Linked DNA regions of Homo sapiens: all the other regions are linked to region 3. Evidence: promoter capture Hi-C in 16 types of primary human blood cells and fetal thymus (Javierre and others, 2016). All regions are on one chromosome and are shown on one strand. Each heading gives the region's core, a stretch centred on a gene start or on the middle of the fragment in contact. The rest is flanking DNA. Distances are from core to core; before and after follow the strand shown. Region 1 overlaps IDE (insulin degrading enzyme). Region 2 holds the start of FGFBP3 (fibroblast growth factor binding protein 3). Region 3 holds the start of CPEB3 (cytoplasmic polyadenylation element binding protein 3).

Region 1 (4,504 bases), core at 1,645-4,144, 280 kb after region 3:
AGGTCATGTAAAAGGAGACAGCAAATTGGTAAGTCTGACTGGAGAAGAGTTAGGCTGAAAAGTTGGGCTAAGCCAGCCAACAGAATGCTTACATGCTGGGTCAAGAAGTTTGAACTTGATCTTGAAATAGCACAGAACCACTGGTGATATTTAGGCGAGACAACAGCTTGGGAAAAGTGGTTTATTAATCTGATGTGATGATAAGAATCAACTAGTAGGGAGACAGAAGGCTGGAAAAGTCAGTTCTAAAACCTGTTCAGGTGAGATAATCTCACTGATGTAAGATGTTACGAAGATGATCATGGCCTGAACTAGGATGGTGATGAGGGTCAAGATCACTCCAAGAAACTTTAGGAATCTTTAGGATGAAAGACTCAGGAGGATTGGGTCTTGGGAATAGGCAATGAGGGAAAAAGATTCAAAGATTTTCAAGCTAAACTGAAAACTCTCATTTTCAAGCTAAACTGAAAAAATGATAACAACATAGCAAAACTAAGGACTCTACAGAAAAAAATTGTTTTGAAAAAAGACCATTAATCAATTAAGTTATGCAGTAAATATGTACTGAGTACCTACTATGTGTCAGGCAGAGTGTGATGCCTTCCCTTCAGAAAGCAGATTGTGAGTCCTACTTTAAAAAGTTATTCCGAGCGCAGTGGCTCACGCCTGTAATCCGAGCACTTTGGGAGGCCAAGGTGGGCAGATCACCTGAAGTCAGGAGTTCAAGACCAGCCTGGCCATCATGGTGAAATCCCAGCTCTACTAAAAATACAAAAATTAGTTGTGTGTGGTGGCACACACCTGTAATCCCAGCTACTCTGGAGGCTGAGGCAGAAGAATCACTTGAACCCGGGAGGTGGAAGTTGCAGTGAGCCAAGATCGTGTCACTCTCCAGCCTGGGCAACAGAACAAGACTCAGTCTCAAAAAAAAAAAAAGTTACACTTTTAATAGGCAAAAAGAAACTAAACAGTTCTTTGAGAAGAATAAAATAATTTTGTGAGTCCCACTTTTTAAAAAAGTAATCAGTATGGTGATAAAATACTAAGTTGTTTTTCAAAATTAATTGAAAGAAACAACAAAACATAAAAGTGGAGGTGTCTAGTAAAAGGTCAGAGGTAAAGCAGTTTACTGTTTATTACTGAAAGCTCCTTGAGGACAAGATTTATGGTTATCTTTGCATTTACATAGTACTGGACACAGTGTGTGATCACTACAGAGTAGACATTCAAATAATGTCTAAACTAACAGAACAGTGAAAACAGACTGAAGACAAGCCAAATGAGAAGGCTCCAGAACCTAACATATCTATAGAGGATCTACCCCTGTGGAGGGAAAGTGCTCTAGCCTTGTCATCCTGGCTAAAAGGTAGCCTGATCCTCTGGCTACATGTTTAGGAGATATAAAATACCAACAGAAAAACAGAAAGGAAACCAGTGTTTATGAAACATATACTGGGCCTGGCACAGTGGCTCATGCCTGTAACCCCAGCACTTTGGGAGGCAGGGGGATTGCTTCAGCCCAGGAGTTTGAGACCACCCTGGGCAACATGACAAAACCCCATCTCTACCAAAAATACAAAAATTAGTTGTGGGGTGGTGGCATGAGCCTGCAGTCCCAGCTACTCAGGAGGCTGAGGTGGGAGGATCACTTGAACCCAAGAGATGAAGGCTGCAGTGAGCTGAGATCACATCACTGCACTCCAGCCTGGGCGACAGAGTGAAACCCTGTCTCGAACTTTAAAAAAAAGAAAACATACTGAACTTTTTCTCCCCTACCCTGGGGAGACTGTCCCCAACCCTAACTTCTTTTTTTTTAAGACACAGTCTCGCTCAGTCACCCAGGCTGGAGTGCAGTGGCACGATCTCAGCTCACTGCACCTCCGCCTCCTGGGTTCAAGCGATTCTCCTGCCTCAGCCTCCCGGGTTCAAGCGATTCTCCTGCCTCAGCCTCATGAGTAGCTGGGATTACAAGCGCCCACCACCACGCCCGGCTAATTTTTTTGTATTTTTAGTAGAGATGGGGTTTCACCATGTTGCCCAGGCTGGTCTTGAACTCCTGACCTCAAGTGATCCCCCCGACCTCGCCCTGTCAAAGTGTTGGGATTACAGGCATGAGCCACCCCACCTGGCCTCAACCCTAACTTTCAAGACAGGCAGAATGTGTGGATTAGGTTAAAGAAACTTCAGGGGTACCCTGTTCTTTTACACTATTAAAAGGCATTTTTCTGATTGACAGTAGTTTAAAAGCTTGAATGTTGATAGTCCCAACTGACATACCACTGTTTCCTAAGCCTATGGAACAGGGAAATGCAAAGTAGGGCTGCCTGCAAAGTGAGATGACTGATGCCCAGGTGGCTCAAGTTGTTGCCAGGGAATGGGCTATTATCTCCAGGTGCCCCAGTAGTTCAGATAATTCCACACAGTCCCAAGTTATAAAATACAGCTGAACACAGAACAAGGAGGTTACTCTGTAAATGGATTGATCTTACATAAATGCTTTAAGACCATCTCTGTCTCAAGAGGTTAGACCAGAAAATGAATGCCCAAATACCAGCAGAGGCAGTACTTGTGTTTGCAAATACATAACAGTTAAGAGCTCAGGCTCCGATGCCAGATAGACATGGGTTAAATCCCAGCTCTTCCAGCAAATAGCTGTGTGGCTATCTCTGTTAAGACATTCTTCCGACTATGTACAGTAGGGCTGATTGCATTCCTTAAGATGAGAATATGTGGTAGCTTCAGATGTTAGTGCTTTCCTTCCTAAAACTATGCCCTAATCCCTTTGGTTGGACCTGTATTTTCCTCAAAAGCCTCACTCACTGATTTTAGGGTAGAGCTTTCTAGCTGGCTCATCTCATTCATTATGCTTTGAATCTCTCAAATTTCCATCTTTGAGAAAAACATATCTTAAAACTCTGGATGGTCGACCGGACTTTATAACTACAGAGAAAATGTAATTTTAACTAGAACATACAAACCACTTAGTTATACAAAACTTAAAATTGGTGCTTTCTTTAAAAATCACAAATGCTATATGCTGGAGACAGTATGGAGACAGCTAAGCCTAGCCTATCAGTAATGAATTTAGAACAAAAGCAGACTGACACAAAAGAGGACAAAAGGAGGCATCCTGCCTGTGCTTACCACCTGATTCTCTAAGTTCAGGGGTCTTTTGCACATTATAGGAGATTTTGTGATGTAGTGGAAAACAGAGGAGAACAAGTTCCATAGAGTCTTCATTTGTATTAGCTTATCTTAGTGCCCCACTGCTACCATCCTAATACAGGCAGTAAAGACTAAGTCCCAACAGGTTTCTCTGCCTTAGGACTCTCTCCACTTCCTGACATCCTGCACACAGCCACCAAACTACTTTCCTAAACCCCCAGTTCCATCAGATAACTTTCCAGCTCAAAAACTTTAATGGCTCCCTACCTACTACGCATTGGGAAAATCCCAACTAAAATTCAAGACCCAGGCCAGCATTACCCTACTGTTATAATACAGGACTTGTGTCCTTCTAATTACCCCAAGGAAATTCTATAAAGCTTCAACCAGACTAATCGGCTCACTGCTCCCCCAACACAAACTGCCCGCATATCTAGGCTGGATTACGCCCACGCCAGCCCTCACTCCAACCTTTCTGCCATTCCTTCCAAAGCCAGCCTACCCCCCCATCTCTGGCCCCACACACTACCCATACTACCCATCTTCTGACCCTCATCAACACACCCTTGTAGCTATCTCAATTCCCGTGGCATCCCAATCCGCTCCAATCAAGTCAAAGTTCCTTGGAAGGCAGACACATACTTTACATAGAGGGTCCAGCACAGTGCCCTGCACTTAGTAGGTGCTGGCTATTACTGATTAAAACCAGCAGGGGTTCAAATAACGTTTCTAGGGAGGGCAAGATAATACTGCCTATCTTCTTCCATTCGTAGTAAAAAGTATTCAGCGTTCACTACAAGCCTGAAAACGCCTAGCGTACGCAGATCAACGGTGCAGTGGAGAGGGCACGCCGCCGGATGGCAAAAAACCTGTGTCCTAATCCTGGTTTTGCCACAATCTCGGCAGTTGCTGGGAAATCAAGCCATCTCTCGGAGCTCCGGTTGTCTCCGACGTAAAACAAGGGAGCTGCTGTAGAGGATCCCGAGGTATCTTTTGGCTCCTAAATGTCCCCCGATAGGAAACCCCACACTCGTCTTCCAAGGCGGGAGGCAGGCAAACTTTTTTCCCAGCGCGGGCATTCCACACGGTCCTGGAAACTCAGTGCCCGGAGAAAAGGGCAGGGCTGAGGGCAAGGTGAGAAGCGGTCCCCCCGAAGTCGCCGGATTCCTTTACCCCACGGCTCGAGTCCGCCTCAGGTTCCCGGCCCCCTCACAGGCGGACTCCGGGAGAGTGACGCGGCGCGGCTCCCAGGTGCAGGCCGGGTGACTCTGTCCGCCCCTGCGCCCCCCGCACTAGTGGCACACGCCCCGTGGCCCCGGGTAGCGGCCCCGGCCCCTCA
Region 2 (4,690 bases), core at 1,995-4,494, 380 kb before region 3:
CACAGAGGTGAGAATACCAGGAGGTAGGGATCATGTAAGTAACTATATTATATACTTATAGTCTGCCACCATATGTAACTTGTAGAGTTGAGAATAATAAAGTAATGATTTACTCTTATTTGAAGAATTAGAATTTAACTGATTATGAACAAATTTTGTGTTGAGATCATAGGTGTTTAGGGTGCAAGGACTATGAAGTTGTTGTTTTAATATAGTATGCAATGGTATGCTTCAAATGGAGGACCAAAATATTCAGAATAAAGCGATCTCACCTTGTTAAGGGAATGACCATGAGGATTTAACTTCAAGTTCCCAAATAAGTGGTTGCAACACACACACACATATATACACACACACACATTTATATATATAATGGAAAAACATATATATAGTTGCCCCTCCACATCCGTGGGCTCTGCATCCACAGATTCAACAATGGATGGGAGGAAGGTGGGGAGGAAGGGAAAAAGAAAGAGAACCAGGGTGCAAATCAAATAGAACAATGATAAGGCCAGGTGGCTGCCAGTTTGTGACTCTTGCTTTATGTCAACTTCTTAGTTTCTGTCTTTTCCCAGCAATTCAAGATGTGTTTAAGAACTTAATTCAAGGTGTACTTGGAAGTAGATCAAATGCAGGTAGAATTTCCATTGCCTTGCCACTTCTTTAAATCTAACCATACAGTTTTTATTGAGCACCTAACATACACACACAGTCTCTCATTACATCACACTAAAAATGAAATATATTAATAATTAGTTACATGAAACAGAGAGATACAACTTCCATAATGGTCAAAATGACTCTGAGATACATACTTACATTTTAGCTGTTTAAAAAAAAAAATCAGATATAAAGAGAATCACTGTTTACTGGAGCACTCAACATCTATAATTCCTTCTAAATGCAGAAGGTTAATGGGAAAGTTCCAGAACATTAGTCACCATTTCGTTAAAAAGTAGCACTTCTAGTGGCACACCCCTGTAGTCCTGGCTACTCCGGAGGCTGAGGCAGAGGATCACTTGAGACTGGAATGTCGAGGCCGCAGTGAGCCATAATTGCACCACTGCTCCAGTCTGGATGACACAAGACCCTGTCTCAAAAATAAAAATAAAGTAGCACTTCTAAGCCAAGTGCAGCTGTGCATGCTTGTAGTCCCAGCTACTCCTACTCCTAGCTATTCTGGAGGCTAAGATGTGAGGATCCCTTGAGGCCAGGAGTTGGAGACTGCAGTGCCTATTATTACACCTGTGACTAGCCACCGCACTCCAGCCTGGGCAAGCCAGACCCTGTCAGGGAAAAAAAAAAAAAAAGGTAGCTCTTCTAAAAGAATGGAAAGGAAATCATTCTGCAAAACTTTCCTTGGAGCCAGTTTTGACCTGTGAGGCTTCTGTCCCTATAGAGGTTATCTATGACACCCACCACGCCGCATCCAAGTTTATACCAATTCAGAAACGGAAAAAAAGTCTGCAGTCTTGTTAGCTGATTAAGTGAGAAGACATTGATTCAACCTGGCTCAGGTTGGCAATTGCTCATGGCTGCATTTAATAGAAATGTTAAACAATAAACATTGCATCCCCCTCCCCACATGGGACTCACATCACTTTAGTCACTCTATCTCCCCCTTATTCTCAGCCTCCCTCTGCATCGATTTCTCTCCCCAGTCTCCAGTTTTTGCACATTTAAAGTACGCCTATTTCTGTTTCCATTATTTTTCCTGCTCTTAATCAGGACTGAGACTTTTCAAAATTTTTAACTTCTCTGCTATCCCAGAGATTCTCCATACCCCTTACACTCTCATCCCAAGCATCTCACCCTTACCCTTGCCCCCACCCCCATTCGAGAACCTGGACTTCTCCCCAATCTCTATCACAGTACCCCCCGGTCTAAGACGCCCTTAGCTTTCCCTTCCCCACGCCTCCCCCATCAACCCTCCCTAAGCCGGCAGGCAGTCTCAGCCGTTCCAGAAATTGACAAAGAAGTTGCAGAGGGAGTGCCACTTCTCAGCGCAGTAGGTCTCCGTGAGCTCCGCGTTCCCGTCCAGCCCGTCGGGGTCGGGCCCGGTCCCCATGGGTCGCTCCTCGTTGGGGACCAAGGCCGCCTTCCTCTTGCCCTCGTTGGTCTTCCTCTCTGAGGGGTTTTCTTTGGGCGGTGCGCTTTGGGGAGGCGGGGTCCCAGCGGCTGGGCCGGACGCACGCTCCCGGGTCCGCCCCCGGTTCCGGGCCCGGGGCTTGGACTCCCCCGCGAATCCCGCGACGGTGGGGCGTGCGGGCGGGGACGCGCGGGGCACTAGCCGCAGCTCGGCGCCGTGGCCCTTCTTGCCCGCGCACAAGCGGGCCTGGAGCGGCGCGGGGTCGTGACAGGGCCTCCGCTTCTTGCGCAGCCCTCCCAGCACCTGCTTCCAGAAGTGCGCGCGGCGAGCGGCGTAGGCTGCGCAGCGCTCCGGATGCCCGCGGTAGGCGCACTGGTGGCGCGCCCCGTCCGGGCTCTGGCAGCGCAGCGCCAGCTCGCTGCCCGCTGCGGCCTCCGGGGCGGGCAGCAGGAGCTGCCAGCTGCACGCGTGCTGCTCGGGGCTGAGGAAGCGACCCGAGGAGCCGCCAGTGGGCCCGGGGACCGGCTCCGCCACGTTGCTAGCCGCCCCTTTCTCCCTCCGAGCAGCCGCGAGGAGGCAACCACTCAGCAGCAGCAGCAGCGACGGCGACAGCGACGCTCGCAGCTTCGGAGGAGTCATGCTCCGCGGTTTCCGCGCTCCGCTGTTCTCAGACCACGTTTGTCGGGGCTGGACCAGGCAAAGAGCATTCCCCAGGACCTGCGGACAGAGGCAGAGACTGCCACCAACTGAGCCACACGCAGCGCTTCGCCCAGACACATGCACCTGCGAACTACTCTTCCGCAGACTTTCTAGAATCTGCAGCCTGCGAGGAGACCCTCTGAGGAGCTTTCCTGGGGAAACTGCTTACTGTCTAAATAATCACTTTCGAACCATGTATGCATTGAGATTTTCTTCCCCTTGCAAATACGATAGCAAAACGATGCGTGATAATTGCCCCCTCTACCCCTTCCTTCATTTTCTCCCTTCTCCAACCTGCAATAAACTATCTACAAAATCATTTCAGATGATTCCTTGGAAACATGCACTTTACTACACTTTGAACTTACCGAGTTCTGGGAGAGGCGCCAAAGCCTTATTAGGGTAGAGGGAACGACTGCACGGGGGAGTAGTCTGTTTTAGCCGGCTCCCTGTGAATGAACGTGGTATCAATGGAACAGAAGAGGCCTACCCTTCTTCGCCCCTCCCCGATTTCTCTCACACTGGGAGACTTATCACCGCCGCGCTTCTCTCTCTCTCTCCCTCTCTCTCTCTGTCTCTCCAGATGGATGATGGAAGCGGTCCTGTAGTATGAAATACAAATCTTGTATTTTGCTTCCAATGTTTAAAATAATCAGGCAAAATTAACCAAGTTTTTCTTCTTTCATGTACTTAACCATCCAAAAAATAAAAATTAAACAAAAGATCTAAGTTTTAAAAGTTAAATAAAATGAAACAAAACAAACTTCAGTATTCTAAACTAGGCATTTTTTACACAATTATATCATTTACATTCTATTTCTCATATTCTGAGTTCTACATTTTTACCTATTATTTCCAATAGCCTTTCTTAAGACTCTCAATCTTAATAATTGTTACTACTAATAAAAATATAATATCCTAGTTTATTAACATACAATAGTGCCCAGCAGTTCACCCAGGAGTGGACATTTGGGCTTTTTATTATTTTTAGGTATTAGAAATCAGTTATAAGGGTCCTCCAAAAATTAGAAGTTTAAAAAAATTATTTGTATTATAGTAGTTGAACGGTAAGATTACCAATTGAAATGGTATAATAGTTAAGAATGTGAGACCAGCCTGGCCTGGTGAAATCCCGTCTCTACTAAAAATACAAAAATTAGCCAGGCGTGGTGGCAGATGCCTGTAATCCCAGCTACTCAGGAGGCTGAGGCAGGAGAATCACTTGAACCCGGGACAGGGCGAGACTGCCTCTCAAAAAAAAAAAAAAAGAGAGAGAGAATGAATGTGTTCTTGAATCTTGAAAATGTTACATTTAAGCAAAGCTGCTTTTTCTGGAGGGGGGGATTGTGTGTGTGTGCGGGGGTTTGTTTGTTTGTTTGTTTGTTTGTTTGTTTTGAGACGGGAGCTCACTCTGTCACCCAGGCTGGAGCGCAGTGGTGCTATCTCGGCTCACTGCAACCTCTGCCTTCCCGGTTCAAGCGATTCACCTGCCTCAGCCTCCCCAGTAGCTGGAATTACAGGTGCCTGCCACAACACCCAGCTAATTTTTAGTGGAGAAGGGGTTTCACCATGTTGCCCAGTCTGGTATCGAACTCCTGACCTGAGATGAGCCACCTGCCTCAGCCTCTCAAAGTGCTGACCAAGCAAAGCTGTTTTTTCTTTCTTTTTTTTTTTTTTTGCTCTTTTTAAAATTTTTATTTAGAAGCCTACTTGTAGAAGTTAGCATAATTTTACAGATTATTAGAAAAATTCAATTATTTTCTCTCTGCAAACAGTTATAATAGGTTAGGAATAATAGATTAGAAATGTACTACATTGCAAAAACAGTGGCCTATAACTATCTGTACATTTACTGTGCACCTTAAGGAAAAGAATTTGACAGTGTGCTATACTTACACTGCA
Region 3 (4,674 bases), core at 2,043-4,542:
TTCACAAAATTATATAACCAGAACCATTATCTAATTCTAGAATACTTTCATCCCTCTAATAAGGAACCTCATACTCATTAGCAGTCACTCCCCATTTCTCCCCAACTCCTTCAGCCCTATGCAATCACTAGTCTACTTTCCGTCTCTATGGAGTTGCCTATTCTTGACTTTTCATGCAAACAGAATCATACAATATGTGGTCTTTGTGACTGGCTCCTCTCACTTGGTATAATGTTTTCAAGGTTCTTTCATGTTATAGCATGTATCATAACTTTATTCCTTGTTTTCTCCTAATAATATTCTATTGTATGATACACCACATGTGGTTTATCCATTCATCAACTGGTGGATATTTGGGTTTCCACTTTTTGGCTATCAAGAATAATGCTGTAGGCCAGGTGCTGTGGCTCATGCCTGTAATCCTAGCATTTTGGGAGGCCGAGGTGGGAGGATCATTTGTGCTCATGAGTTCGAAACCAGCCTGGGCAACATGGCAAAACACCATCTCTACAAAAAAAATTTTTTTAAGCCAGACATGGTGGTGCGCCCCTGTAGTCCTAGCTACTTGGGGGGCTGAGGCAGGGGGAGTGCTTGAGCCCCTGAGGCTGAGGATGCAGTGAGCTGGCGCCACTGCACTCCAGCCTGGATGACAAAGCGAGACTCTGTCTCAAAAAAAAAAAAAAAAAACCCAGAATAATGCTGCTATGAACATTCACAAACAAGATTTTGTGTAGACATGTTTTCATTTCTCTTGAAAATACCTAGAAGTGGAATTACTGGGTCACATGCTAATCACTCTTTAGACCAGTAACAGGATTTTTTTCTACTTTAAAAGGTTTTTGACACAGCCAGAAAGCTGATTTTTCATAAAAATGCAAACATAAAATCCATTTGTTGGTATAATAAGGTCAAGGTGCACAAGTCTTTGCTATCAACAAAAGGTATCATATTTTCCAATTTCAGTTGAAACAGACATTCTAACATTGGTTAAGATCTTAGAATCTTGGAGTTTGTACTAGTGTACTTAATCCATATGCTGGGATAAAATTCTGTTTTTAAGCAGGAAGTATATATCCAACTCCCATGGCTGACAACTGCTTAAGAAATAAGTACACAATAAGGTTAGACTGACACAGCACAAGGAGCAAAAAATAATAATTTAAAATGTTAAGACACCGGGCTGTGCACGGTGGCTCACATCTATGATCCCAGCCCTATGGGAGGCCGAGGCAGGCAGATCACCTGAGATCAGTTCAAGATCAGCCTGGTCAACATGGTGAGACCCTGCCTCTGCCAAAAATACAAAAGTTAGCCAGGCATGGTGGTGCGAGCCTGTAATCCCAGCTACTCCGGAGGCTGAGGCACGATAATCACCTGAACCCGGAGGAGGAGACTGCAGTGAGCCAAGATAGTGCCACTGCACTCCATCCTGAGCAACACAGCGAGACTCCGTCTCAAAAAAATAAAATAGACCAGGCGCGGTGGCTCGCCCCTGTAATCCCAGCACTTTGGGAGGCCGAGACGGGCTGATCGCCTGAGGTCAGAAGTTCGAGACCAGCCTGGTCAACATATAGTGAAACCCCATCTCTACTAAAAAACACAAAAATTAGCTGGGTGTGGTGGCACACACCTGTAGTCCCAGCTACTTGGGAAGCTGAGGCTAGAAGGATCACTTGAAGTCAGGAAGTGGAGCTTGCAGTGAGTCAAGACAGCGCCACTGCACTCCAGCCTGGGCAACAGAGCAAGACTCCATCTCTCAAAATCAATGAATTAATTAAATAAATGAATTAATTAAATAAAATATTAGACACTGGTCACATGCGGTGACTCACATCTGTAATCCCAACACTTTGGGAGACCAATGCGGGTGGCTCGCTTGAGCCCAGGAGTTGCAAGACCAGCCTGGGCAACATGGCGAGACCGCGTCTCTACCAAAAAAAAAAAAAAATATATATATATATATATATATATATGTATTATATATTATAAATGTATATATGTATTATATATTATAAATGTATTATATATTATATAATACATATATATTATATATAATACAAATATATATAAAATATTAGACACCCCGATTAAACTAAATACTCATTTTCTTTCCCTAGGAGGAGTGTGTGTGTATGTGTGTGGTGGGGGGGGGTGGGTGCTGTTTCTCAAAAACATATTTCAAAAATTGGAGGCCAAGTAAGCTTCTGGTCACATTTTTTGGGTTTGTTGTTTTTTCCCAGCAATGAACACTCTAGTTCAAATATACTTCGCAAATTTTGAACAGATAATGAAAAGTTGATTGTAAAATTCTACATATAAAAAGAGCTTTAAAAACACATTTTCATTTTTTAAAAAATCAAACACCTTGTAGCAGATATTAGACATAATCAAGGGAAAACTACCAGCGTCCTACCAATCACAGCCCTAGAGAAAACGCCACAGGTCGTCCAAAAAACGCATTCGTTTGAGCCGACAGCTCTTTCCTCCCGCCAAAGCTATCCCTCGAACGTCAGAAGCTGACCCAAGGAGTGACTGATGATTTCTCCTTTTTGATTCCCCACCCCCGCCACTCCCAATCCACCTGCTTGAAGGTGTCAACGCGACTAGAAACGGTTAACAGTGACCAGCAGCAGAGAGAGAAACAAACATCCCTGACAACCCACAGCTGAGTAAGCAAGAGCTGTTTATTCACCAACGTGTTCCATTTGGAGACTGTCGGCGAGCCCTGGAAAGCCCAGGCACATTTGAGAAGGTTCCTGGAGAGGGAGAGAATCATCTTTCCTTCCCCCAACTCCCCAGCCCCAAACACACAGAGAGACTCGGGTGGAAGCTGTCTGGTCCAGGCAGTCCCTATTTGCCCGCCCCCTCAAGAAGAACCTCACGCACCAAACCAACCGACCCCTCGCGGAGGTGGTGTAATTCCCCCAAAATGGGCTCTGCCGCAGGAGAGGCTGGCTCCAGCGCCGGGGGCTTCGGAAGGAGTTTCTGCCACCCCCACTGCCGCCACTGACCGCCCCGACGCCACGGCCGGGGCCGGGGACCCTGATAAGAAATGGCCCTTCAGCCCCCTCCCCTCACCTGGCTCGGTCCCACCTGAGGGCAAGAGCGGAGGCAAAAACAAACAGGCAGGGAGGGCTGACCTTGTTGCTACCGACAGTGGAGCGGCGCATCCTGCTGCTTCCTGGAAAGCGGCCCGAAAGACATTTTTTCCCCCTGGAGGAAGGAAACGGGAGGGCGCCGGCCAGACGGCGGCAGGCGCGGAGGCGTTGGTCCGGGCGGGCTGTGCAGCCTCTAGTGGAGACGGTCCGAAGACTACATCTCCCAGGCTGCTCTGGGCCGCCCTGCGTCGTAACCCTGGCGCGCACGGAGGCGGCGACTCTTACCTCACAAAGGTAGCTCCTCCGCCGGCAGCAACTCGGCGCCCGCGGTCCATGGACCGGAACCTCGGGCCGACGGACGGGAACCCGGGCCGCGATCGCCGCCTCCCCGCCTCAGGCTCCTCCTCCTCGCTCTCCGCCGCCTCCGCCGGACTCCCGCAGGCCCTGCACCGCCGCCGCCAGGCTAGCGGAGCTGCCCCGGGAAGCTGGGTGACGGGTTCGCGGCTGCCGCCGGACTGCGGCCTACTCCGCCGCCTCTCAGTGCTATTGTCCCTGGGCCTGGCCTTGAGCGGGTCCACTGGGGAAGGCCGTGTGCGCCGGCTCCGCGGAAGATGCCGGACCAAGCCCTACAGCAGATGCTGGACAGGTACGGGCAGCTGTGGGGGGGACCGGGAGCCGCCGACCCTCGCTCTGGCCCTGCCCGCGCCCGCCCTCGAGGCTCTTGGTGAGCAGAACCCGGCGTGCCGGGAGGAGTTCCACGGCCAGGGGGCCGTGAGAGGGGCAAAAAGTTTGGAGTCTAGACCTGGGGGAGGACAGAGCGAGCGGCCTGGGTCGTAGACTTTGGGTGAAACTTAGCTAAGGAGTGGCGTCTGGTTTCCTTGGAACCCCGTTTTGACCTGAGAGGGACTCCTGTTAATCCACAAAATTAGTTTTCCTTACCCTCTTCCCCTCCCCCTTCCCCCTCCCCAACTTGTGAAGTGTTTGTCAGCGATGTCACTGGCAAGAACCGGGTTATCTTTCAGGGGAATGACCCCCTTATAATTTTAAGTCTCTGTCTGAGAACCAATGATAAGCATTCTTTTGGAAAGCCTGATAGGCTGATTTCATTCTCCCACTTTCCCTGAACCCGCACCCCCCGTCCCCCCCGCCCCATCCCGTCCCCACCTCCGAACTGTAAGGTCAGAGTATCCGCAAGGGAGATTTAACGGTCAGACCAGAGTAGAGGTTATGGAAAACAGCCAAATGAGTCCAACGCTGAACATTTAGTGTACTTGACGATCGTTGAGTTCATTGAAGACGTTTCAGCTCGTACAGGAGTCCAGTTGCCCATTCTTGGGGGGCCCCAGTCGGTAAAACTCTTTGTGAAGTCGGGTGCACCGCCCTCTGCTGTTGAAATTCTGGTCCGTGGGTCCTACCATGAGTTTTTGGAGACTCTAGATCCACATTTCCCCCGAGCCAAGTCTTACTTCCTGGCATAGCAAGTTGTACAAGCTAATTCATGATGTTTGTGGTTGCTTACAATTCTCAATAGACACCACTTGCCACCCATTTCAGCAGGTGGTACCAACTCTTTGTA

The links. The method cuts DNA at HindIII sites, captures the fragments that hold promoters and counts their contacts. A CHiCAGO score of 5 or more calls a contact.
Region 1: a contact is called between a fragment that was not itself captured here and the fragment with the promoter of CPEB3 in region 3, in 1 of 17 cell types (non-activated CD4 T cells). The highest score is 5.5, in non-activated CD4 T cells.
Region 2: a contact is called between the fragment with the promoter of FGFBP3 here and the fragment with the promoter of CPEB3 in region 3, in 1 of 17 cell types (naive CD8 T cells). The highest score is 6.4, in naive CD8 T cells.

What each region holds. Positions count from the first base shown.
Region 1 is chr10:92,569,184-92,573,687 of GRCh38, forward strand. The region is part of intron 1 of IDE (insulin degrading enzyme); the gene reads right to left. Among named protein-coding and RNA genes, the nearest start is that of IDE, 2.7 kb to the right of the region's middle. RefSeq lists a silencer at 4,310-4,504. The HindIII fragment of the contact is 1,298 bases long and covers 2,246-3,543 here.
Region 2 is chr10:91,906,242-91,910,931 of GRCh38, forward strand. FGFBP3 (fibroblast growth factor binding protein 3) reads right to left here and starts at 3,245. Exons shown (of 2, transcript NM_152429.5): 1 at 3,157-3,245; 2 at 343-2,806. The coding sequence starts at 2,728. The coding sequence ends at 1,952. It overlaps FGFBP3-AS1 (FGFBP3 antisense RNA 1), which reads left to right and starts at 1,888. Exons shown (of 2, transcript NR_199602.1): 1 at 1,888-2,008; 2 at 2,656-3,107. RefSeq lists a silencer at 2,118-2,687 and an enhancer at 2,591-2,885. The HindIII fragment of the contact is 14,773 bases long and covers 1-4,690 here.
Region 3 is chr10:92,287,786-92,292,459 of GRCh38, forward strand. It overlaps CPEB3 (cytoplasmic polyadenylation element binding protein 3), which reads right to left and starts at 3,293. Exons shown (of 10, transcript NM_014912.5): 1 at 3,141-3,293. It overlaps MARCHF5 (membrane associated ring-CH-type finger 5), which reads left to right and starts at 3,382. Exons shown (of 6, transcript NM_017824.5): 1 at 3,382-3,744. The coding sequence starts at 3,710. RefSeq lists enhancers at 2,587-2,796, 3,744-4,322 and a silencer at 3,357-3,606. The HindIII fragment of the contact is 4,117 bases long and covers 2,200-4,674 here.